Regions from separate parts of the Homo sapiens genome. Here region 2 is linked to region 1. The links are contacts of gene promoters, found by promoter capture Hi-C in blood cells and fetal thymus (Javierre and others, 2016). All regions are on one chromosome and are shown on one strand. The core of a region is centred on a gene start or on the middle of the fragment in contact, and the rest is flanking DNA. Distances in the headings are between cores, read along the strand shown. Region 1 holds the start of NHEJ1 (non-homologous end joining factor 1). Region 2 holds the start of LOC107985987 (a long non-coding RNA gene).

Region 1 (4,882 bases), core at 1,376-3,875:
GCCTTGCTGCTGCCAAGATGGTTTCGGGAAGCCCCAGTCCTGTTCAGCACAGGTAGGTGGAAGGGAAGAGGCGTTGCTCAGTAGCAGGAAAGCAAGTTGAGGCTTCAGGCTGCCCGGACTCCTGGCCCCACAGCCTTCTCTGGGCTTTGGTGTAAATACTTCATCCATTTGTTTAACAGATATTTATTGAGCACTATGCTAGCCATTTGGAATACAAAGATGCCTTCCGTTATTACAGCGTAGTACAAGAGATGAGATGTGTAGGAAAATAACAGGAAAGGTTCAGATAAAGAGCTACAGTGCTCAGTGGCAAGAGAGATAGCTTCTGTTTGAGGTGATCCAGTAACAGAGCTGGTCTTGAAGGATGGTAAGTTTTAAACATCTTTGGTGAGAAGAAGGTCATTCCTGATGGAGGAACCATCATTTATGCAAAGACACAGAAGTGGGAAGTCTTAGGATATGTCCTGAGAGCAGTAAATTGCTTAATTTGTCTCACCCAGTTCTCAACTGGGTGATTTTGCCCCCATGGGGACATTTGGCAATGTCTGGAGACATTTTTGGCTGTTACAAATGGAGGAAGAGGGAGTTGTTACTAGGGTTTAGTGGATAGAAAGATGCTGCTAAACATCCTACACTGTACAGGACATCCCCCCTGCACCACCACCCCCAACAAAGAATTATCTGGTCCAAGATGTCAGTAGGACTGAGGTTGAAAAACCCAGGATAGAGCATAGAGGGTAAAAAATGGGAGATGAGGTTGGGACTTAAATATTACGCTTTCTAGAGAAAGGGAACCTGGAATAGTCAAAGCATATATGGAGGGTGTGTGGATGATCAGAACACAGGGTGTTGAGCAGGAATCCTGTGGGAAAGGCCTGGATTTGGAAAGTGGAGAGTAGAAAGACAAAGGGTGAGAGGGATGAAATGACAATTCAGAAAGATCTGTCCTTAGTCCAAGGCTTAGGTTTAGGTCTGGGAGGGTAAGACTCCTGGGCTTGGATATAGGATCAGAGTTCCCTTCCTGCCTGGCCCCAACTCTTCATAGGCTGGAGCCCCTTGGATGTATTACTGCACTCACTGCTGACACAGCCCATCTTCCTGGCTGGACTCTCAGGCTTCCTACTAGAGAACACGATTCCTGGTAAGTTGAGGCTAGGCCCTAGCAGACTGGGGAGTGGCCAGGAAGCCATCCCTCCCTGGGATGGGCAATAGCCTGACAAACCTCTCTTTTGCAGGCACACAGCTTGAGCGAGGCCTAGGTCAAGGGCTACCATCTCCTTTCACTGCCCAAGAGGCTCGAATGCCTCAGAAGCCCAGGGAGAAGGCTGCTCAAGTGTACAGACTTCCTTTCCCCATCCAAAACCTCTGTCCCTGCATCCCCCAGCCTCTCCACTGCCTCTGCCCACTGCCTGAAGACCCTGGGGATGAGGAAGGAGGCTCCTCTGAGCCAGAAGAGATGGCAGACTTGCTGCCTGGCTCAGGGGAGCCATGCCCTGAATCTAGCAGAGAAGGGTTTAGGTCCCAGAAATGACCAGAACGCCTACTTCTGCCCTGGTTAATTTAGCCCTAACTCTCATCTGCTGGAGAGTCAGCTCCCAAACTGTTCTTTCTTGTAGGCAGAGGATATGTGTGTGTGTATTACATGGGACTGTCTAGAGGTTCCATTTCCCAATAGGGTGGGTTGCCTTTCCTTGTCTTAATTAGGCCTAACTGTTCCAGAGCAGAGGCCATGATTTAGTGGACCATGAATGATTGAGATTTTGCCTGTGTACTATCAATGCCACTTGAACCCCAGCATTCACTTTAATACTTACTGAGCATCTCCCATGTGCAAGGTCCTGGAACTACAGGGATAAGACAGGGTCCATGCCGTCTCAAGGCATTTACGGTTTAAAAAGACCTTTGTAATTACTAACGAAAATGCAAAGCAGAAAGCAGTCTGTAATAAAGATTAAAATAATGCCGTGGGAGCAAAGAGGAAGGGATAATGAATTCTGATTGGGGACAGTGGGAAAGGCTTTATGCAAGAAGCAATGAGGATGGCCTTGACAAATGAGGATTTTTGGTTTTGGAAAATGGATGCAGAGAAGTTTTCAGGTTCGGGGTCCAGCTTGAGCAAAGCCATGGGTTGTACAAAGTCCAAGATAGGTGAGGGGTTTCAAATTTCTCAGTAGTGAGGGAGTATAAGTACGGGGATGATGGAGAAATGAAGCAGGAGAGGTAAAGGATGAGGTCGGACTATGGGACTTATGCCTGGGAGACTCCTTCCTTCAACAACTCTAGTGCTGGTGGAGGACCTGAGAGATCATCTACAGAAGTTCAATCCCTTATTTTGTTAAAAAGAGACCGGATAGGTAGGGGAGGGAAGAGAAGTGACTCAAGTTTGACAAATCCAAACCTGGGCTCCCCTCTCCTGCGCCTCGCCCGCTATTCTTTCCACTCGGCCAGCGTGACTCCAAGACGCGCCACTACCCTTCTACTAGCCGGCTGCCCGGCCTCTCCTCCACTTACCCTGGCCACTGGGGCGCTCCTCTCATCAGTGTCCCAGGCCCAGAAGCCCCGCCCACGCCAGGCATAGGCCCCGCCCCTGTATCCCAAGACCCTGCCTCCTCTTGCGGTGGGGGGAAAGCGGCCTCTTACTCTAGGCCTTTCGGTTTGCGCGAGCGGGCAGGAAAGCGTGCGTGCGGCTAAGAGAGTGGGCGCTCTCGCGGCCGCTGACGGTAGGTGGAATCGCGTTCGAGTCCGGGCAGGAGCAAGCCAGCGAGGGGCTGCTCAGACGCTGCGGGTTGGCCCTGGCGCTGGCCTTTTCTCCCTGGAGGGAGCGCGCGCTGCCGGGGTCCAGGGCAGGCCTCCGGGGGAGGGGTGGGCGGGGCCGCGCGTGCGCAGTCCGCTGGCTGCTGCCCGGCGTGGATGGTAGGGCTCGAGTGAAGGTACTCGTTGGTCGCCTGTTTGGTGCGACGAAGCCGCTGGTGGCCGGCTTTGTTGCCCCTTGAAGCCGCGCCCCAGTGCAGCCAGTGCTGTAGAAATGGGAAGGCGGACAGCGAAGGCTGTTATAGCTGGGGCGGGTGGAAGCGGGACGCCTGGCGGCTCCTGGGGTGGGGCTATGGTTGTGGTGGGACCTAGGGTTCGCGCTGTCCCAGGGGGACCGGGCGGGGCCCAGCCGGGATGCTCTCTGGGCCTCTACTGCCCTCTGCAGGGCGTCGGAGGAACTGCCCAGAGGGGTCACTGCTGAGGAGCGGACTCGGTGCAGATAAAGGTTCTCAAGGGACCCCTCCGCCGGGATGCCGCTCAGCGCCCCTCCACTCAAGAGAAATAAACCCGTGAATCTCGTTAATGTGAATGTTAGAGGCAGCCTTGAAGGAAAAAAGAAAAGGATGAAGTGTAGAAGCTTCGGACGCAGAACGGGACGCGTGTGGTGGGAGCAGGCAGCCGGGGTCTGGTGCCCAATGTGTCAGGCCTTTTTATAGGGCCCGTTACTCCTGGCCACATTTTAAACTCCTCCCCCTTTACCCAACAGACAAACAAAACCCATCAATTTGAGGGTTCTGAGCTTCCGGGCTTTCCGAAGGAATGGGCTAGAATAGTAAACCCAATTTTGGCAACTGTTAAGAGTACACTGGGGAGTGCCTATAAGGGAGATGAAAGTGGCGACTTTATTCGCGTTTGTGACCTTTGGCATTGTGGAGCTCTTGTCCGGCTAGGACTAGCTTAATCATCCCATGACCACTTCTGTCCCCATAAGAGCAGCATGTGGGAAATGTGACGGAAACACCATCCTCCAAACACAAGGCTTTGAGGATGCCATAAAGAAAGATCACCACGTATATGTATATATATGCATATATATATATGCATATATATATGCATATATATATGCATATATATATGCATATATATATATGCATATATATATGCATATATATATAAAGTTATGTCACAAGTCACAAGGGCACACTTCAAAAGCTAGGGGAAATGACTGTGTTAATCAGACTTAATAAGGAATTTCATTATTTACATTCTAAATTTTTCCTTCCTGGTACTTCTGTTCATTTTATATTTGTAGACTGGAATAATGAAGGAAATTGACATATTTTTTTCTCCCCCACAGGAAAAACAATCACATTCTCTGTCAAGCAGCCGTAGTTCTGATTGTCTACTAGGTTAAGCCTACTACTTTAGCTGCTGAGATAGAAAAGTTGTTTTGCAGGGGTTCCAGGCTGGGCATGTTGTCATTGGTGGCAGTGCACTGGAGTGGGAATGTGGAGGATGAGTTAAGTGGAAGTTAATTCAGTCTTTACCTCTGTGATGTGCTCTGCCTTGTATTCATGATTTCCTAGTCATTCTGGTTTTTGTTGAAATGAAATTTAGGTCTTTTCTGTTGCTCCTGGACACAGGTTCTTAGCTCTTTTTTGTGTCATCGATCCCTGAGAGTTTGATGATAGCTGTAGACCTCTTCCCCCTCCCCATGCATATATGCGTGTACACATAACATTTTCATATAATTCTAGAGGATTCACATGCATTGACTCTAGATTAAGAACCTGTTTTAGGGATTTTTAAAAAAATCCTGAGAGCTTCCTAAACTTTGTTTTTAGATAATGATCAAATACTTCGAATTTCCTGGCCCTGACACTATGACTTATGATGTTTTATAAGACAAGAACTATTCCTTCTCTTCTAGTTCTGGGAAAGGATAGGAGTGACATATTTATTAGGAATGTGATAAAGATGGAACAAGAAGGGTTTAGGTTTCCACGTTATGTTATAGTATTAGAAAGCAGAAATACTAACAGCAATATGCTGAGGTTTAAACACTATGGAAGAAAGATTTTCTGTCCTCTAGGAATGTAATATGGGAAAAAAAAAACCCTCAAGATTTTAA
Region 2 (4,882 bases), core at 1,682-4,181, 110 kb after region 1:
GCCACTTAGTGCTCATAATGACCCTATGTGGTGTGTACTTTATTTAATATTACCACTTTCCAGAAAAGAACACAGAGGCACAGGGAGGTTAAGAAACTTGCCCAGGAGTACACAAGAAGCGACAGAAGCAGAATTTGAATCCTTCCAGACTGGCTCTTGGGTCCATTGTTTTTATCCCCAAGCTTTTCCCCTGGGGAACTCAGGTTCTCTCTGGTAGGTCGCACTCAGCATTTGAGGTCTGGAAATCTGCTTTGTCAACACATCTAGAGTGGACCCATCTCTCTGTGGCAGACTCTTACTGACCAGGCTCACAGGGACCAAAATGTTCATGAACTCATTCACAGTGAGAAATAACAGGCCAAGGTCAAGATGCTCTTGTCCATTCATTCACACATTCTCTCCATGTAGACATTCTACCTGGGAGATCAGATTGTGGTGACAAGTTGTTGGTGAGTGTGGATGCATGCAGTAGATGACTCTCCAGCTCATGGAGGAAGGAGTGGGGGGATGCCTCTCCTGCTGGGGTTGGGCACATGTGGTCCAGCAGACACAGAGCCATTTGGTGTCCTTAGACCTTTCTGTTCTAGATGGGCCTCCTCAGGGAACAAATTCATTCTTCAGACAAAGATTGCAAAGATTCAGCAAAGAACTTTGTACGAATTCAGGCCCTCAAAAGAACAAATTTGGGGTGGGAGTGAGACCCTACAGCTTTTCCTGGAATTCTGGGCCCAGATATGAAGAAACAAGGAGACAGTCTGGAGATCATCTTTCACATCTGCAGTGTGGTGGCCCAAATCTCTCCCATCCTCTGTACAGTGCTGAGACCCAGAGGAGGGTCATTTGCACCACCCAGACCCAGGCAGTGCAGATCCAATGCCTGCTTCTCCACTTGGGCCCAAGCTTAGCCCCCAAGGCTGCTGCATCCAGAACTGTGATGTTCGCTCATAGTCAATGCTTATTTTATTTTATTTTATTTATTTTTTGAGACAGGGTCTCATTCTGTCACCCAGGATGGAGTGCAGTGGCAAGATCTCGGCTCACTGCAGCCTCTGCCTTAGGTTCAAGCAATTCTCCTGCCTCAGCCTCCCGAGTAGCTGGGATTACAGGCGTGTGCCATACCAAACCCAGTTAATTTTTTGTATTTTTAGTAGAGATGGGGTTTTGCCATGTTGGCCAGGCTGGTCTCAAATTCCTGGCCTCAAATGATCTGCCCACCTCAGCCTCCCAAAGTGCTGAGATTACAGACGTGAGCCACCGCGGCCGGCCAATCTCATAGTCAATGTTAATGGATGCCACTCCATGTCAGGCACTGTGCCTGAGTTGGGGAAAAGAGGCAGTGCCTGCCCTCAGTAAACTCCTAAGTTGGGAGGGAGAAGTGTGGGAGACAGGGATATCCACATGGTGCACTAACTGCTGTGGCTGACATCCTCACAGTGGCTACTGAAGCACCATGGAGTGGCTGGTGACTAGGAAGACTTCCTGAAGACGAGGATGCTACAAATGGGGCAAGAAGGAGTTTTCCTGGCAGGCATGTGGAAGAGATCCAGGCTAAGGACATAGTTAAATAAAAGGTTTGGGGGCTTGAGGGCTTAGAGGAACCACCATTAGGCCAGCATGGTAAAGCTATGTGGGTCACGTGGGCTTGGCAAAAGCCAAAGTGGAGAGGTAGGCAGGAGGCAGATGACACAGAGCCTGTGTTGCACGCAATAGGACTCAATCCCAGGGGCCCTCAAACAGGGGAAGCTCATGACTAGGTTGCTTCCAAAAGCTCATCTGGCTACAGTATGGAGGGCAGACCAGAGAGGACAATCATGGAAGCACTACTGGGGAGTTGGTGTCCTAGACCAGGGAAGTGGCTCTAGGGTCATAAAGAAGGTGATGGATTGTAGATACTTAGGCAATAGAATGGCCAGGATGGAAGCCAGGGTTGGATGAGCGAGGGGGATGAGAAAAGGGCCCAAGTCAACTTTGGGGGTTTTAAGTAGGAAATCCAGCTCCCCCACCACCAGCATCCTTGACCTTGAACCTTGGTCTTCTTTGGCTTTAGTGGCTGCACCTGTAAGGGTGATGTCCAGGGCTTTCCTATATAGATATACTCTCTCCCTGTCATCCAAGGGTCTACTGGGGTTCAAGGGACCCTCCAGGCACCTGTTCTGTCTGCCTGCCTCTCTGCTCTATCTTGGAAATGCATGGGAAAGAAATTCAGAGTAGCCTCTGCTATCCCAGTCCAGGCAAAATGCAAGAACTATGCCTAAGTCCACAGGTCCCTGGGAGGACCTGGAGTGTCAGGGTCCAGGAGTCACAGTGGGGGAACTTCCTGGCTGCGAGGCATCTGGAGCTGCCTGGGCCAGTTACCTTCTATAGAAGCTCACTGCACCCTGGTTCCCCTATCTGGCTGTGCTGGGGCCTCTCCGTAAGTACCCTTCCTCAAGCTGGCCTTACAGCCTTCTCTCTTTTGTTTGGAAAGCCCCACTCACTGCTGGCATGGCTCTTTGGAAGCCCTGCAGGCCTGCACTCAGCCATCTTCCCTAAGAGACACAGGTCTCAGGGTGGAATGGCTTCTGACAGTGAGTGGTCCTGTGTTGGAAAGGGCTGAACCCAATGCACACGTCCTTTAGGCAGCAGAGCCTGCTGCTAGCACCTATGCCACCTGTGTGGGAACTGGAAATAGGAGCCCTCCATTGAAATATTTAGTAAGAAGTGCCCCCTCAGGGATACTCAACTAGAAAAGGCAGCTCTCCTGGTCTGGTGCCAGGAGCAGGAAGTCCATTTAGAAGAGACTCTAGCCCAGGGTATATGCTGGGGCTTTCAGAGCGTGTCTGGATTTCAGTCCCCCTGCTCCCTCAGCCTAGAGCCCTTGTGCAGTGTACAACTTTTACAACCATCAATTCTGGTCCTGGTGGGCCTGGGCTTCTGCCAGGCTCAGCAGATTCTGCCAGGGATGAAGATTCAGAGAGAAGCTACATACAGTGTGACGCCAGAGGAAGTGCAGAGTGATTAGACAGGACTGGGGGCAGGATGCGCAATGCTCAGAGACTTCCTGGGGTTGGTGTTGGCCTGGGTCTTCAGGGGTATGAGTGACTTGGGCAAGGGCAGGTGGGTGTATCATCAGGAGCAGATGTACAGAGGGGAAGTTCAGGGCATGCCCAGGGACTGGGAGCCAGTGTAGTTGGGGCTAGAAGTTTGATGAGGGGAGACTTCAAAATGGGAGGTAGGGGAGGGAAATGCTGTATCCCATGGCAAGAGTGGAGTTGAGGGCCTGGAGGGAAATGCCCCAGCGGGTAGTGCCCCAAAGAAGGCTGGGCTCCAGCAATGGAGGCCTTCTCTGGAGAACATAGACCCAGCTTCCCACCTGGAGGGGCGCCCCTTCAGGGCAAACCTCCTTGGCAGGGTAGGTGGTGGCAGCTCCCCAGCCTGTGCCCTCTGGCCCCTGGGTGGTTGTGCCTTCTGAGGCTCAGCCCCACCTCCCACACCTCAGCCTGGTTCTCAAAGCCTCTTTGTTTTATGGGGCCAAGTGGTGGGGAGCCCGGATCTGATAAGGCTCAGTTGGGTAGATATAGCCCCTCCCTGAGTGCCTCACCGGCCTGAGTCACACCTGCTGCCTGGCACGCATGCACATCCCATCTACCCCAGCTGGGCCTTCTGCCCAGCTGGGCCAGGGTTTGACCTCTGGGCTGGCCTTCCCTGCAGCCTATTCAAGAGCTCTCTCGTCCGTATGGGGAAGCAGAATAGGGGAATTATTACCCACATTTCAGAGATAAGTAAAGCAAGGCCCCAAGAGGGAAAATGCCTTGCCCACAGCCATTTCTCCCATAATCTACTATGCACCTACTATCGATTAGGTGCACTACGTGTGGTATTTACATGATCTTTTCTCATCCTAACAGTGTGTGACATGAAGTTGTTCCTAATTCCTACTTTGCAGTTGAAGAAACAGAGGCCCACAGAGGTGAAGTCATTTTCTTAAAATCAAACATTAGCAGACCAGAACCCGGGTCTCCAGCAGCAGCAAACCAAGGGGATGGGAGGGACATACTCCTCACCTCAGCCTAAAGGACTGATGAGCCTGGGAGTAACCAGAACCCTGTTAGAGAAGGGAGTCCTGGAGGAATAATGTTCTAAGTGCTGTGAGGAGATCTAGGATAGGGTTGGGTGGCAGGGGCGGTGGGGGGGACGGTCAAAATATGTCCACAAATTCTTTGACACTTCTCCTGTAGAGATGCCGGGTCTACCTCAAATCTGATCTGAGGCTAGGTCAGAAAGGCCATGCAGCTTCTGCCTGATTCTACACTAAGACCGCCATGCTGGAGAGTGTGTGCACCTAACCTATAGAGAGGTGTTCCAGTCCATGGTCCAGCTGACATCCCAGCTAACAGCCAGAGCCAATTGTCAGCCATGGGAGTGCGCCATATTGGATATTCAGCCCAGTTGGGTTGGCTGCAGATGGCTGCAGCCCTGGCCAACTTCTGAATGCAACCACATGAGAGACCCCAAGCTAGAGCTACATGGCCAAGCTGCTTCTGAATTCCTGACTCACAAAACCACAAAATAAAATGGCTGTTTGGAACCTTGACATTTTGGAGTAACTCCTTACACAGCAATAGTAACCAGGACAAAGGGCAAAGAGGGAATGTGGACTAATGAAGGCATCTCCTGAGGCTTTCCAGAGCCTCAAAACACAGTTTGGCACAAAGGCTTTTTAAAATGGAGATTGCATGAGCCTGGAGGAGGTGTGGCCTAACCCTTTGTCATCTGAAGGGGCAGCACAAGAAAACTCTGAAATGGAATAAACTCGGGGCAGATGGAGGTGGTGACAAAGGGGAGGATTGGATGAGCGCATCTCTCCATATTCAGTTGATTGAAAAAATCAACTGTACGTCTG

What was found. The method cuts DNA at HindIII sites, captures the fragments that hold promoters and counts their contacts. A CHiCAGO score of 5 or more calls a contact.
Region 2: a fragment that was not itself captured here is called in contact with the fragment with the promoter of NHEJ1 in region 1 in 9 of 17 cell types (total CD8 T cells, naive CD4 T cells, naive CD8 T cells and 6 more); the score reaches 8.1 in total CD8 T cells.

Annotation. Positions count from the first base shown.
Region 1 is chr2:219,158,558-219,163,439 of GRCh38, reverse strand. It overlaps NHEJ1 (non-homologous end joining factor 1), which reads left to right and starts at 2,625. Exons shown (of 8, transcript NM_024782.3): 1 at 2,625-2,720. It overlaps SLC23A3 (solute carrier family 23 member 3), which reads left to right. Exons shown (of 12, transcript NM_001144889.2): 10 at 1-52; 11 at 1,046-1,141; 12 at 1,236-1,975. The coding sequence ends at 1,531. RefSeq lists a silencer at 2,841-2,960. The HindIII fragment of the contact is 12,472 bases long and covers 1-3,390 here.
Region 2 is chr2:219,048,133-219,053,014 of GRCh38, reverse strand. It overlaps LOC107985987 (a long non-coding RNA gene), which reads left to right and starts at 1,192. Exons shown (of 3, transcript XR_001739887.1): 1 at 1,192-1,571; 2 at 3,888-3,949; 3 at 4,218-4,882. The HindIII fragment of the contact is 4,057 bases long and covers 903-4,882 here.